Linked DNA regions of Homo sapiens: all the other regions are linked to region 3. Evidence: promoter capture Hi-C in human tissues and cell types (Jung and others, 2019). All regions are on one chromosome and are shown on one strand. Each heading gives the region's core, a stretch centred on a gene start or on the middle of the fragment in contact. The rest is flanking DNA. Distances are from core to core; before and after follow the strand shown.

Region 1 (2,750 bases), core at 147-2,646, 230 kb after region 3:
GTCTACATGTCTCTGTGAAAATCTTTTCAAAATTTAAATCAGTAGATTTTGAGCAAAGCAGATGTCCCTCTGTAATGGGAGTGAGCTTCATCCAATCAGTTGAAGGCCTTGGGAGAAAAGACTGAGGCCCCTGAGGAAGAGAAATTGTGCTTTCAGATTGCAACATCAATTCTTTCCTGGGTGTCCAGAGTGCTGGCCTGCCTTGCAGACTTTGGACTTGCTAGCCCCTACAATTGTGTGAACCAATTCCTTAAAATCTTTCTCTACTTTCATGTCTCATTCATTTTTTTTTTTTTTTTTTGGTTATTTGGAGAACTCTGACTAATATACCCTCTATGTCCTTAACCAAGGAGGCTGCAGGATTGGAAATTATCAAGAATCTACTCTCTGTCTTTGCCATGCAAAAGACTTAAAGACTAGAAATCTCTTAGTATTTCAGCTGGGATATGATATAAGCAATAATCAAATGTAAATTACATCATGTATTTGGGTGCTAAAATTTTTAATCTTTGTTTAGATGATACAGTCCTACTGAATTTTTCTTGATTTGGCTTTTTAGAAAAATACCAAGCATACAAGTGAAATATAATTGAATACAAAAGAAGAAATGAAGAAATGTGCTTTTTTTCTTTCAAATGCTGAAATTTTTTATTAGCTGGTCAAGGTCAGTTAGCAAGAGGGACAAAATTAATGGTCACTACAGCCACTAACAAAACAGGGACAGTGAAACTAGTTTCACTCTTTTTCCCAATATCTATAAATGAATATCTTAGCAGTAGTTGTGTCTTTATGTTAGTTTTATAAGTAGATACTATTTCAAGGAAAAATTGAATCCTGGTGAAGTAAAATGGAAAAGTAATGAAAATGTGTTTCCATCTCAAGCTTCCTGTTCATTTCAAGAAAATTATTTTCTCGTTGTACCTTAGTTGTAGCTACCGCAGTGGCATAATTATTTCTTAGTGGAAAGAAGGGATCAGCAATGGGACAGCATTTTGTGCAGTTTCACACTAAGGAACATGATCATCAATTTTTTTTTCTTTTCTCTAGCTTATACTAACAGGAATGCAAGGATTACACAAAATAATTGCATACTTGATCACTTCCTGACAATATAAGATGTCACTGAACACAATGGCAGGGCCTATTTCCAAATGACTGCGGACTTTTTGGTTTGGCCTATGAAGATAAATCACATAAGCTTCTTAAAGCTGGAATCATAATCTTTCAAGATTAAAATGATGAAAGCTTTAAAGCTGGCCTGATGCCAAATTTCAATTTCCTGTTGTGCCTTTGGGGCATAATGTGGCGAATATTGGAAAACTGTTCTTTTCAATGGTTTTTCAGATACTTTTGTGCAATTCTTTCTAACTTAGCTACTGTCATATTTTAAAAGCTGGCCAGTTTTTGGTAGTTACTATGTACTAAGAAACCTGACACTTTAGTATTGTTTTCTGATTTATTAGTAATGAGACCGTGTAGAGTTGAGTCTAAGAGCACAGATTTTGGACAGAGAGAAGAATACGTTTTTCTTTTATTAGTTTAGTGATTAATTCAGTGATAACTTGGGGCAAGTTAATTAGCATCTAGCTAAAAATTATAAATAAAGGTGCTATAAGAATCATCTCGAATGAGATGGTGCATGTACTTACTGTGTTGGTTGTCTATATTTTAAATAAAATCTCTAGGTAATTCTCATGCAAACTAAAAGCTGAGAACCACACTGATGAGAGGAGCTAGATATGCATTGTTTAGAGAATACTGAAAGTTTCCCTGAGTTCGTTCAATACCTGGCAGACACATTCATACATTTGATTCTCTCTCCATTCCTTGTAGGAGATGATTTCTGGATACCCATTAGCCTCAAAATCTTCCCCTGAATATACTATATTTCTTTATTTTTTGTTTAATATATGCATCACCTCACATACTCTACTTTTCAATGCCCTAATGAGGCACAGGGTAAAATGTCCTATAAAATAAATGGGTACATACAAGGAGTTTTCTCTAACAATAGGCCCTAACCATGTCATTTTCTTCTTATTGGTAGGTTTAACAAGAATTATGCTCTTCTATGCATAATTGAACCTGAATTAACAAGTTTATTTATTCATTTACTTTGAGACAGAGTCTCACTTTGTCTCCCAAGCTAGGGTGCAGTGGTGCAATCACAGATCACTGCAGCCTTGACTTCCTGGGTTTAAGTGATCCTCCTGCCCCAGTCCCCCAAGTAACAGGGACCACAGGTGCACACCCGATGCCCAGCGAATTAAAAAATTTTCCTGTAGAGATGAAGTCTCACTATGTTGCCCAGGCTGGTTTTGAACTTTTAAGCTCAACCAATCCTCCCCTGTGAGCCTCCCAAAGTGCTGGGATTACAGGTGTGAGCCACCACACCCGGCCCTAAATTAATACTTTTAGAGCCACTTGAATTTGGCCTGCTTGCATCAAAGGGCAGCTCAACACCTGAAGTGCTTTTATCTTCTCACATCTGTTGCTTGTGACCTCTTTTGCAATCAGTTTATAAAGTAATTCTCTATGAATTTTAACTCTTTCCTTCTTGTATCTATCAAGGATATTGAACTTAAAGAGTAAGGGACAATTACTTAGAATCTGAGTGTGAAAGATTCATAGCTAATTTCTGTTTGAAAAAGAAATGTTCTTTCTTCCTTAAAGAAAATAAACTTTATTTTGACAGGTAATTTTCTGGGTAGCCACTAATATATGTATATATTTTATTTACTTATCCATTT
Region 2 (2,700 bases), core at 34-2,533, 140 kb before region 3:
ACATTCACGGAATGTTTGTATTTAAATCATTAGGAATGTGTCGGTCTTTCAATCTATCAGTTCTGAAAAAGGAATAAAGACGTCACCTCATAATGATGGCCATGAAAAACTCACTGCCACTTTCATCTTGGCAAAGGGAAGGACCATTTCTGAATCACTGACTGCACTAAGCAATGTAGATAAATAAGGAAATCTGATCTCAGGGCTGGCCCCCTGATCTTAGTGTCCTCATTTCAAAGCTTACTCAATGGAATCCTATAATCCCTGTCTCAAATTAAAATAGAAGAGGCTCCTAGTGCCAGCAAGTTGTGCAGATTTGAGGGCAGCTGTAAGTTTACTTCTCCTGTTTAGATAGAGTTGTATGGGTGTTTCCTTTTCTACACATGGCTACAACTCAACTCCAAGTTCCTACAACCACTGAATTGTTTCAGCCCCACCCCCCTCCTTTCCAATTCCAGATTCCCTTCTTGAGGAAAGACCACAGAGGCCATGACTGACTCAGTAGAACCATGTAAGTCTATGGTGGATACTACACCCTCAACAACGATCTGCCTGCTTTCCACATAATGGCTATTTACCACCCAGGGGAATGTCAACTAGGGATTTATGTCCTGAAATACTCCCCTTATTAGTCAGAACCAAAATTTTAGAATTGGAAGTGCCTCAATGATTATTTTGCCCAATGTAACACTCAACTTTCTTATATATGTGTGGATGTATTTATTTATTGGTAGCATGCAAAACGTCCCACATGTATATTGGTTATTTCATCATTTAAAAAATATATACAATCAAGTTGAAACAATTTTTGTAGAGTATTTTTTAATGTCCTTACATCAGTTTCTTATTATCTGGTATACTCAGAATTATCATAAAGGACAATGCTGAGAGTTCCTTATTTTTCATGACCAAACGTTATTAGCTGTTTGATTTATTAAGGAGAAAAACCAATGCATCTTTTCTGCATCTCCAAGGAAACAGGCAACGTTCTAAAACCATCTAGCAGGGTTAGCAGCTATATGTTGAGTACTATATGACCAGAGTACAGGCACACGTAACACATTTAAAAATTAATCCAATTATTTCTAGGTTCATAAAATTATTTGACACTTATGAGTACTTTACAACTCTCCAGAGAAAGAAACTATATAAGGATGTAATTCCTACATTTGTGTTTATGAGCTCATTGGAATAAAATTTACAGTGGCACACCGGAAGAGATGAAATCAAATATTTAAACCAACACTAGCACCAGCAGTAATTGCTGCACGATAGCACTGGGTCACAATATCTATTAAAACATTCGAGAGTATCCAGCTATTCACTAGCTCACCCTTCAGTATTGGGTCACTGAGAAGCACTATTTTCTTCTGTAACTTCACTGTCATATATTCATAAAGTAAACATACACAATCTTTCTTGATCCCAGCTGGAATTATACAATGCCTTTCTCTTCTTACTTGCAGCAAATCATACTCTCGCCCAACACTGCATTCACCTACAGCACTAGCCCAATCTCTCTGACAGCAATTGCTGAAACAGTATGTGTATTCAGTCACAACCAAAATAAATCTGACATTGTCATTATCTGGCCACCCACAGTTGAAAGATTTCCATGACTACTGCCTAAAGACACAACATATTGTAATAGTGTAATATTATACAAGTACCACCTGTTTATATACTAGATGTATTCATTAATGTAAGTGAGAAGTTCTAAAAAAAAATTATGCAAGGAATTGAAGAATCCAGTCATCAATATTTGGAATGAGTCTCTTCCTCTGCTCCATGTGTAAACTGCATCTCAGGTTTCCCGCCTGTATCTCTCCCCTCATTTTATGTATGGATTTATGCTTTCTCTTACTAAAATCATTTCACTTACTCTGGATCTTTGGGCAAAACAGAAACCTTGCTCTTCATTTATAAATCATGTTCAGTCCCTGTGCTGCGGATCAGAATCGAGTTCATGATTGACACCATGCACTCACATGTATTCACGATGCATTCACGGCATACTTCCCCTCCTTCCCACCCACTCCTCTTTATCAGTTTGCGTACCATTTCCATCTGCTAATATGTTCTTTCAAGATTTAATTTCCATCTGTCATTTCTGTGCTCTGGACTCTGGCTACTCAAAAACTGTTGTTGAATTCCTGCCTATATGCAGTAAGCTAGAGGCCCTCGAGTTTTCTGCCCTGGGCATGCCCGATGACCAGCACTCTCATAAGGAACACACTACCCAGTAATGAAGGCCACCATATGGGCAACATGGGATTCTTCACAATCCCCTGCCCATCAGCTTTTCTGCTGAACCATGAAATGGCAAGATGGTAAAAAAAAAAAAAAAAAAAATTGCTGCAGTGACACTGATACATCTCATGGATACCTCTAGAGACCTTCAAATTTGGACATGTTTACAAGGGCATATACAGGCTTCTCTGGGTGACACCTGCATCAAAAATCACCTGCTCCAGAAAAACCGTATGGTGTCCTCAAAAAATTAAACACAGAATTACCATATGACTGACCAATTCCACTCTTAGGTATCTACCAAAAGAATTTAAAGCAGGGACTCAAACAGGTATTTCTGTATACTGTTCACAGCAGCATTATTCAGAATAGCCAAAAAGGTAGAAACAACTCAAACCCCCATTAATGGATAAACAATATCTGATATATACATGCCACGAAATATTATTC
Region 3 (2,700 bases), core at 21-2,520:
CTCCTTAATTTTCCTAGTCATTTACATGACTATTAAATATACTGATGCGACAAAAAAAATCACGCTCCTTTACTCACTGTTGCCTTTCACACATCTTTACCTTGTATTATTAACTACATAATGACAGTTGAACATTTTCACGTGACTTTCTTCTGTAGGAGTTTGTGTCATTCACAGCCTCCTACATTTGCTATCCTATCCATTTTGTGTTTTATCGTTACCTACTAACGGGATTCTGGCTTTAGTGGGGGAAGGAAAAAGAGAGAAATACTTATGTCTCTTTTTGAACAATTTTTTATTTCTTTTCAGACCTGGTAACATCAACATTCCCTGGGTATGATAAGGGCGTTAGCATGCAGGTTTAGCATTTCCTTTCTTGGGACTAATAAATTCTCATATGCTAAAGTAGTGGCTTTTGAGATCTCAGACCGCTGCTTCGAAACTCATTCTAATGCAACAGACCTCCTGGGTCATTAGCTGTCGCCCCGCGCAATCTAGGAGTTCCTTTTTCCCACACCTACAGCGGTCCACTTTCTGCCTGTCATGGCCTTCATTTCTGAATCTTTTTTTGTAAGAGGGGGAGGGGTGTTGGTTTTGGGTTTGGATTGATACTTGGTAGCTGCAGCCACCTTTAAGGTCCTGATGCATCAGGGACAGCATCACTGGTCTTCCCAATACGTGGGTGACCGGATCCTAGGCTGTCCGGCCTAGGTGTCAGCCTCGCTCACGGGAAGTTCCTCACCCGCGGCCACAGCGCTTGCACCGTCCCCACAGCCTCCAGGGTCCTGCGTACCCGGCACGAAGGTCACATCCCCCGCGCAGGTGTGACGCGCGCTCGCGCACTCACCGTCTCCTTGGCAGCCGCCACTGGGATGGGCAGCATCCCCCGGCCGCGGGGCGGGTCCTCGGGCTCCGTGGCCGCGCTCTTTGAGGGTCGCCCGGTCGCCGGCGAGCCGGCCCTGGGGTCCCCGTACAGCTGGTAGCATACCAGGCCGACCAGCCCCCCGCCGGCCGCCGCCGCCACGCTCAGCTCCCCCCAGCGCCGCCGCCGCCTCCATGCCGCCTCCGCCACAGCCCTCTCCTCATCCTCTCGGGAGGAGAAGGGCCGGCCAGGAAGGCCCAGGGTGGTCACCGCAGGCCGCCCCCACGGCCCAAGGAGGGGCTGGTGAGCGCAGAGTGGAGGAGACACCCGGGGTGGCGGCCACAAGAGCCTTCGCAGCGCAGCCATAGCGGAGGCCGCCCACACCAGAGCTGGGAGGGGGCAGAGAACGGAGGGGCGGGGGCGGGGGGGGGGGTCGCCGAAATCTCGCGAGAAGTCGGTGCCGCGAGCTTCGCGGCCGGCCGAGAGCGACCCCTACACTCGCGCGGCCCCGGGGACCCGCGACGCCACCTTCAGCGTAGCGGTCCCGTGGTTCGGCCCGGGAAGATCATGGAAGAGGCGGCGGATCCCGGCTGCTCCCCGGCCCCGAACCCCCAGCCCAACCACGCAGTCATAAATAACCGCGCCAGCCCGGCGACACCTGGCTACGCGACAGCGCGACACTGCGGGCACAGCCGAGTCAGCGTAACTGAGGCGCGGCCGAGTGCGGGGCTCTCTGGGGCCCGCGCCGCTGCTACGGGCGGGGTGGGTCTCCGAGCTGGGCTCAGCGCCCGTCTGGGACACTCACATTCCCTAACGGTCTCCTGACCTCAGGAAACTCAAGGTCTTGACTCAAGGTCGTGAACGATTTGCAATTGTATCTTCACATATACGACACAAATGAGGTATAAGCATTTGGCTCAAGTCATAACGATTGCAAATTAAGGCAAACACTTTGACGACTGAAGGGCAGCTTCCGGACTTTTGATGGGAGAAGGCTAATGCTGTTTTTTAGAAGCATTAGCACACCCGCGGTCACTTAATTCAACAAATCAGAACTGTCTTGTGCATATAAAAGTTAAAAATTTTAAAACTTCTGTGAATAAAGATAAAATCTTGAACGATACCCTGATTTTTCAGGGAAGCGCTGTTTGTATAAATATAAAATAAATGAGAAGCGTATTGTGTCATCTTTTTGTTTTTACTGTACTTTTTGTTTGCTATGTTATCAGTATCAGTTTTTATGAGAAAGTGTAGATGAAGTTCCTATCAGTTTCTCTCCCCAGACCCCAGTTTTGGTAACTTGAATTATGTTAGCTTTTTCTTCCTACTATGGAATGGTGCCAGGAGTCCCTAAAATATTGTGGATCTAAGGGGACAGACAACTAAATACAGTGGTCTCAATTGGGCTGCAGTGACAAGAGAATACACCATCAGTTGATTCTGGCAATTCTTGTAAAGACTAAAGGCTTTCAGAGACGACCAAATGAGTTTTTTCTGGCTCAGGTCCTACAATTTCTTCCCTTTTTTTTTTCTTTTTTTGAGACGGAGTCTTGCTCTGTTGCCCAGGCTAGAGTGCAGTGGCACATTCTCGGCTCACTGCAACGTCCGTCTCCCTGGTTCAAGCGATTCTCCTGCCTCAGCCTCCCGAGTAGCTGGGATTACAGGCACCCGCCACCGTGCCTGGCTAATTTTTGTGTTTTTAGTAGAGATGGGGGTCTCACCATCTTGGCCTGGCTGGCCTCGAACTCCTGGAGGTCCTGCAATTTCTATTCCTAACACCTTGCATGTAAATAGCACATCAGGTACACCCTGTTACCTCTTATTTTAATAGAGGTTAA
Region 4 (2,700 bases), core at 57-2,556, 240 kb after region 3:
TTAGGGGAGAATTCATTCTTTGCCCCTTCTGGCTTCTGGTGGCTGCCAGTATTCCTTGCCTTGTGGCCACATCCCTCCCATTTCTGCCTCTGTGACCACATTGCCTTCTCCTGTACGGTGTCTTCTCCTCTTCTGTGTCTCAAATCTCCCCCTACCTTTCTCTTATAAGGACAGTTGTGATTGGCTTTAGGGGCCCACTCGGATAGTCCAGAATGATCTCTTCATCTCAGGATACCTACGTGCTTTCCATAGTTTGCTGTCCCATGTATGTTAAAGAAAAATGAAATGGTCTTGGCTGGGCACGGTGGCTCACACCTGTAATCCCAGCACTTTGTGGAGCCAAGGTGGGTAGCTCACAAGGTCAGGAGTTCAAGGCCAACCTGGCCAATATGGTGAAACCCTGTCTCTAATAAAAATACAAAAATTAGATGGGCATGGTGGTAGGCACCTGTAGTCCCAGCTACTGGGGAGGCTGAGGCAGGAGAATCATTTGAATCCAGGAGGCAGAGGTTGCAGTGAGCCGAGATTGTGCCACTGCACTCCAGCCTCAGCGACAGAGTGAGATTTTGTCTCAAAAAAAAAAAAAAGAAAGATGAAATGATCTCATTTCAAGAAAATGAAGACCTTAAAACGAAACGTACACAGATGAAATAATAAAAATGAGTAAGTGACTGTTAAACTCAAGGGTCAAGAGATCTTGTATATTTGGGATTCATCATGTTAAACAAAATGAAACAGATTTTTAAATTACAAATATATCAAAGTCCTTAATATATTTCAGTGCATTTTGAGTTTCCAAGGCAAATATAGTGTTTCCGAAAATTAAATGAAGAAGAGAATTCCTTTTTGCTGGACTTCAGGGACGAGTGGGCTTCAAAAAACAGTTTAGGAAAACAGTGCATTTCCTGCTTGACAAAGAGAAATTTAGCTCAACTATAGTGAATGGCCCGAGAGAAGAGTTACACAGGTTGCTATTGTGTCCTGAATTGGTGGGTTCTTGGTCTCACTGACTTCAAGAATGAAGCCGCGGACCCTGGCGGTGAGTGTTACAGCCCTTAAGGTGGCGCGTCTGGAGTCTGTCCCTTCTGAGGTTCAGATGTGTTTGGAGTTTTTTCCTTCTGGTGGGTTCGTGGTCTCGCTGGCTCAGTAGTGAAGCTGCAGACCTTCGCGGTGAGTGTTACAGCTCTTAAGGCAGCGCGTCTGGAGTTGTTTGTTCTTCCTGCTGGGCTCCTGATCTCGCTGGCCTCAGGAGTGAAGCTGCAGATCTTCGCGGTGAGTGTTACAGCTCATAAAAGCAGCGTGGACCCAAAGAGTGAGCAGTAGCAAGATTTATTGTAAAGAGTGAACGAACAAAGCTTCCACAGTGTGGAAGACCACCTGAACCAGTTGCCGATGCTAGCTCCGGCAGCCTGCTTTTATTCTCTTATCTGGCCCCACCCACATCCTGCTGATTGGTAGAGCCGAGTGGCCTGTTTTGTCAGGGTGCTGATTGGTGCGTTTATAATCCCTGAGCTAGATACAAAGGTTCTCCACTTCCCCATCAGATTAGTTAGATACAGAGTTTTGACACACAGGTTTTCCAAGGCCCCACCAGAGCAGCTAGATACAGATTGTCGATTGGTGCATTTACAAACCTTGAGCTAAACACAGGGTGCTGACTGGTGTGTTTACAAACCTTGAGCTAGATACAGAGTGCCGATTGGTGTATTTACAATCGTTGAGCTAGACATAAAGGTTCTCCACGTCCTCACCAGAGCAGCTAGATACAGAGTCGATTGGTGCACTCACAAACCTTGAGCTAAACACAGGTGCTGATTGGTGTGTTTACAATCCCTGAGCTAGATATAAAGACTCTCTACGTCCCCACCAGACTCAGGAGCCCAGCTGGCTTCACCTAGTGGATCCCACACCGGGGCTGCAGGTGGAGCTGCCTGCCAGTCCTGCACCCTGCGCTGGCATTCCTCAGCCCTTGGTTGGTCGATGGGACTGGGCGCCGTGGAGCAGGGGGTGGTGCTCGTCGGGGAGGCTCGGGCCGCACAGGAGCCCATGGAGTGGGTGGGAGGCTCAGGCATGGCGGGCTGCAGGTCCCGAGCCCTGCCCCGCGGGAAGGCAGCTAAGGCCCGGCGAGAAATCGAGCGCAGCGCCGGTGGGCTGGCACTGCTGGGGGACACAGTACACCCTCCGCAGCTACTGGCCCGGGTGCTAAGTCCCCCATTGCCTGGGGCCAGCAGGGCTGGCTGGCTGCTCCGAGTGCGGGGCCCACCAAGCCCACGCCCACCCGGAACTCCAGCTGGCCCGCAAGCGCCGCACGCAGCCCCGGTTCCCGCTCGTGCCTCCCTCCACACCTCCCTGCAAGCTGAGGGAGTGGGCTCCGGCTTTGGCCAGCCCAGAAAGGGGCTCCCACAGTGCAGTGGGGGGCTGAAGGGCTCCTCAAATGCTGCCAAAGTGGGAGCCCAGGCAGAGGAGGTGCCAAGAGCAAGTGAGGGCTCTGAGGACTGCCAGCACGCTGTCACCTCTCACTATCATGTATTGAGTACTTACTATGAGTTAGGTACGTATTAGGTACTTTAGATGCATTAACATTTAATCTTTACAACACCCTTTTGAGGTAGGTTCTATTATAATTATTTTATATCGGGAAACTGAGGCAAAGAGATTTACACAACTTTTCCAGATTTACACAGCTAGTAAGTGGTTGAG
Region 5 (2,700 bases), core at 36-2,535, 210 kb after region 3:
TTCTTGTGTCTCTTGGTTAGGAAAGATGCTAGTGTTTGGGCTTTCTAACCTACAATCATGTACCAGGTAACATCTTTGCCACAAACAGTACAATGAAATTAAGTAACTAACAAGAGTTTAATGAAGAGAAAACATTTATAACAATGTAGGCAGGATTAAGGAACCAAAAAGGGTTTCCAGCACACATATTAAGGAAGTGCCTACTGAATGACTTTTATTACATATTTTAAAAATTAAGAATAGAGTTGAATTGATTAAATAACTTTTCAATATCCATGGAGATGATTATAGGTTTTTCTTTTTAGATCATGAACAGAATAACTTTATTAAGATAACTTACTGAATCTCTTAATATTGAGCCATCTTTCACAACTAAATTTAATGATTATGTCCAAAGTTTTTAAACTTCATACAAATGGAAAAATAAAATAGGTAAACAAATACACGTGACTTCTTTTGCTCAATGTTGTGAGATTTCATCCATTTTTATGTAACCATATATATGTATACCATGTAATATACTCTTTCATATTTTATTTTGCAAATATTCTATTTTATTCTACTGTTGGTGAATATTTGGGTTATTCTAGTTGTAGCTACTTAAAAATACTGCTGCTGTGAATATTCTTAGACATGTCTTTTGATGTACATAATGTACACATATCTATTTACCTAGGAATAGAATTGCTGGGTTTTTAGGTGTACTTATTTAATTTATTTTTTGGGAATTCCTAATGTATTCTGGATATGACTCCTTTGTCAGAAATATGTTTTAATTTTATTTTTCCAAATTATCGTTTATCTCTTCAAATACTTAATGATGTCTATTGACAAACAAAAATCTTTAGTTTTTATGTGGGTTAGTTAATCATTGTTTTCCAATATGATCAGTACTTCTTCCCCTGTTTATATATTTTTTAATCCAAAGTTCCTGAATAATTTTCTTGTGTTATTTTCTAGAACTGCACTGTTCAATACTGTACCCAGTAGCCTAGTGTAGCTATTTAAGCTTAAATATAAATTACAATAAATTGAAAATTCATTTCCTCATTTGTGCTAGTCATGTTTTCAGTACTCAGTAGTTACAAGTGGCTTGGTGGCAACCCTACTGGGCATTGCAAATAGGGAACATTTCTATTGGACAGCACTGTTGTAGAAGCTTTTGTCATTTACTGTTCACGTTTAGATCTACAATCCATCTGGAATTTTTGTGGTAGAACTGCAGCAATTAGCTTTTACTGTGGAACAAACCACCCCAAAACATAGTAGCTTAAAACAGCTATTTCATTTAGCTCACAATTCTGCGAGTGGCTGGGATGGCTGGGTTGGCTGGCATCTCTCCCACATGGTCTCTCATGCTATGTCAATAGGCTGGTCCAGGATCATCAGATGATGGTCTCAGGGTTTCCAGCAACAAGAGGGCAAGTCCTAATGCATGAGCGCTTTTCACAGCCCTGCGTATGTCACATTTCATATTGTCCCTTTGGCTAAAGAAGTCACGTATCCCTGCCTAGATTTAAGAGGATAAATAGACTTCACTTCTGATATGAGAAAAGGCGAAATTATGCCACAAAAGGGTATGCATAGAGGAATGGGAGGGATTTGTGGCCATTTTTGCAACATATTTTAGTGACCTATGGGTAAATATTATTTTTTTCTATATGCCTATACAATTGACCTGCCATATTTATTGAAAAGACCATTTATTCCCCCACTCAATTGCAAAGTTAACTTAACAAATAGCTTGTCTGGGACTGCTTCTGAAGACTTCATTCTGTTCCACTGGGTTATTTATCTACCTTTGAGTCGATAATAACTATTTTAATAATTAATGCTTCATAATTTATTTTGATACCTGACAGTGTAAGTCCTTTAGCCTTGTTGATTTTTCAAGAGGGTCTTAGCTATTCTTGGCCACTTGTATTTCCATGTAAATTTTAGAGTCCACCTGCCAATTTCCACAAAAAAAATCTGTTGAAATTTTTATTGGGATTTTATTGGATCTGTAGATCCATTTGGGATAATTTGCCTCTCTGAGTTTTCCCATCTATGAACAAGGTACATATCTCTGTTTATTTGGGATTCGTTTTATTTCTGTTAATGTTTTTTATTTTACTCAATAGAATTCTTATGTCTGTTCCATTATCTTTATTCTTAAGCAAATGAAGTTTTTTTTCTTTCATTCTTTTCTGTTTATGTTCGGAATGTTGTTACATTTTTTCATTAACTTTTTGAAAATGTTTTCTCCAGTGAGTTTTTATTATCTGCAGGAAAGTTACACCATTCTTTTTCATCACTTTCTTACTGAGTTTGACAAAACTCTCTCAATAAATAAAATATCAGATAAAAAATCGGTAAGGATACAGGAGATGTGAGTAATACAGAAAAAAATTGAACTAATGGATACTTACCCAAAATCTTCGTATGGAGGCAGAATATGTTCCTCTTATTCTATCTATATTTGAATAAGGTGAATTTTCCCACCTGGCAGCAGGTGGTTCTGGCAGTGTGGATATTTTGGGGGTGAAATGAAAGTGCGTCAGAGTGAATATCCTGGTGCTCCCTTCTCTATTTCAGCAAAGGTCTTAATAAATGGCCCCTCTCTGTTCTCACTTTTTCTCTGGCTTTCAGACCTTACATGAATACAGAAGAGTTTCTATCCCCAGCTCTGAGCTTTTCAGATCTCTTCACATTCTTTAT

Evidence for each region. Contacts are between HindIII fragments. The study calls those that stand out against the background at their distance.
Region 1: a contact is called between a fragment that was not itself captured here and the fragment with the promoter of MICU3 in region 3, in 1 of the 25 tissues and cell types used here (mesenchymal stem cells).
Region 2: a contact is called between a fragment that was not itself captured here and the fragment with the promoter of MICU3 in region 3, in 1 of the 25 tissues and cell types used here (H1 embryonic stem cells).
Region 4: a contact is called between a fragment that was not itself captured here and the fragment with the promoter of MICU3 in region 3, in 1 of the 25 tissues and cell types used here (dorsolateral prefrontal cortex).
Region 5: a fragment that was not itself captured here is called in contact with the fragment with the promoter of MICU3 in region 3 in 1 of the 25 tissues and cell types used here (dorsolateral prefrontal cortex).

The regions. Positions count from the first base shown.
Region 1 is chr8:16,800,561-16,803,310 of GRCh38, reverse strand. All of the region lies in intron 2 of LOC105379297 (a long non-coding RNA gene), which reads left to right. Among named protein-coding and RNA genes, the nearest start is that of FGF20, 200 kb to the left of the region's middle. The HindIII fragment of the contact is 3,022 bases long and covers 1-2,750 here.
Region 2 is chr8:17,168,885-17,171,584 of GRCh38, reverse strand. All of the region lies in intron 1 of ZDHHC2 (zDHHC palmitoyltransferase 2), which reads right to left. Among named protein-coding and RNA genes, the nearest start is that of ZDHHC2, 14 kb to the right of the region's middle. The HindIII fragment of the contact is 5,308 bases long and covers 1-2,700 here.
Region 3 is chr8:17,025,808-17,028,507 of GRCh38, reverse strand. It overlaps MICU3 (mitochondrial calcium uptake family member 3), which reads right to left and starts at 1,270. Exons shown (of 15, transcript NM_181723.3): 1 at 848-1,270. The coding sequence starts at 1,228. RefSeq lists an enhancer at 643-732 and a silencer at 883-1,292. The HindIII fragment of the contact is 10,669 bases long and covers 1-2,700 here.
Region 4 is chr8:16,783,546-16,786,245 of GRCh38, reverse strand. The region is part of intron 2 of LOC105379297 (a long non-coding RNA gene); the gene reads left to right. Among named protein-coding and RNA genes, the nearest start is that of FGF20, 220 kb to the left of the region's middle. The HindIII fragment of the contact is 3,801 bases long and covers 1-2,700 here.
Region 5 is chr8:16,818,024-16,820,723 of GRCh38, reverse strand. All of the region lies in intron 2 of LOC105379297 (a long non-coding RNA gene), which reads left to right. Among named protein-coding and RNA genes, the nearest start is that of FGF20, 180 kb to the left of the region's middle. The HindIII fragment of the contact is 3,324 bases long and covers 1-2,700 here.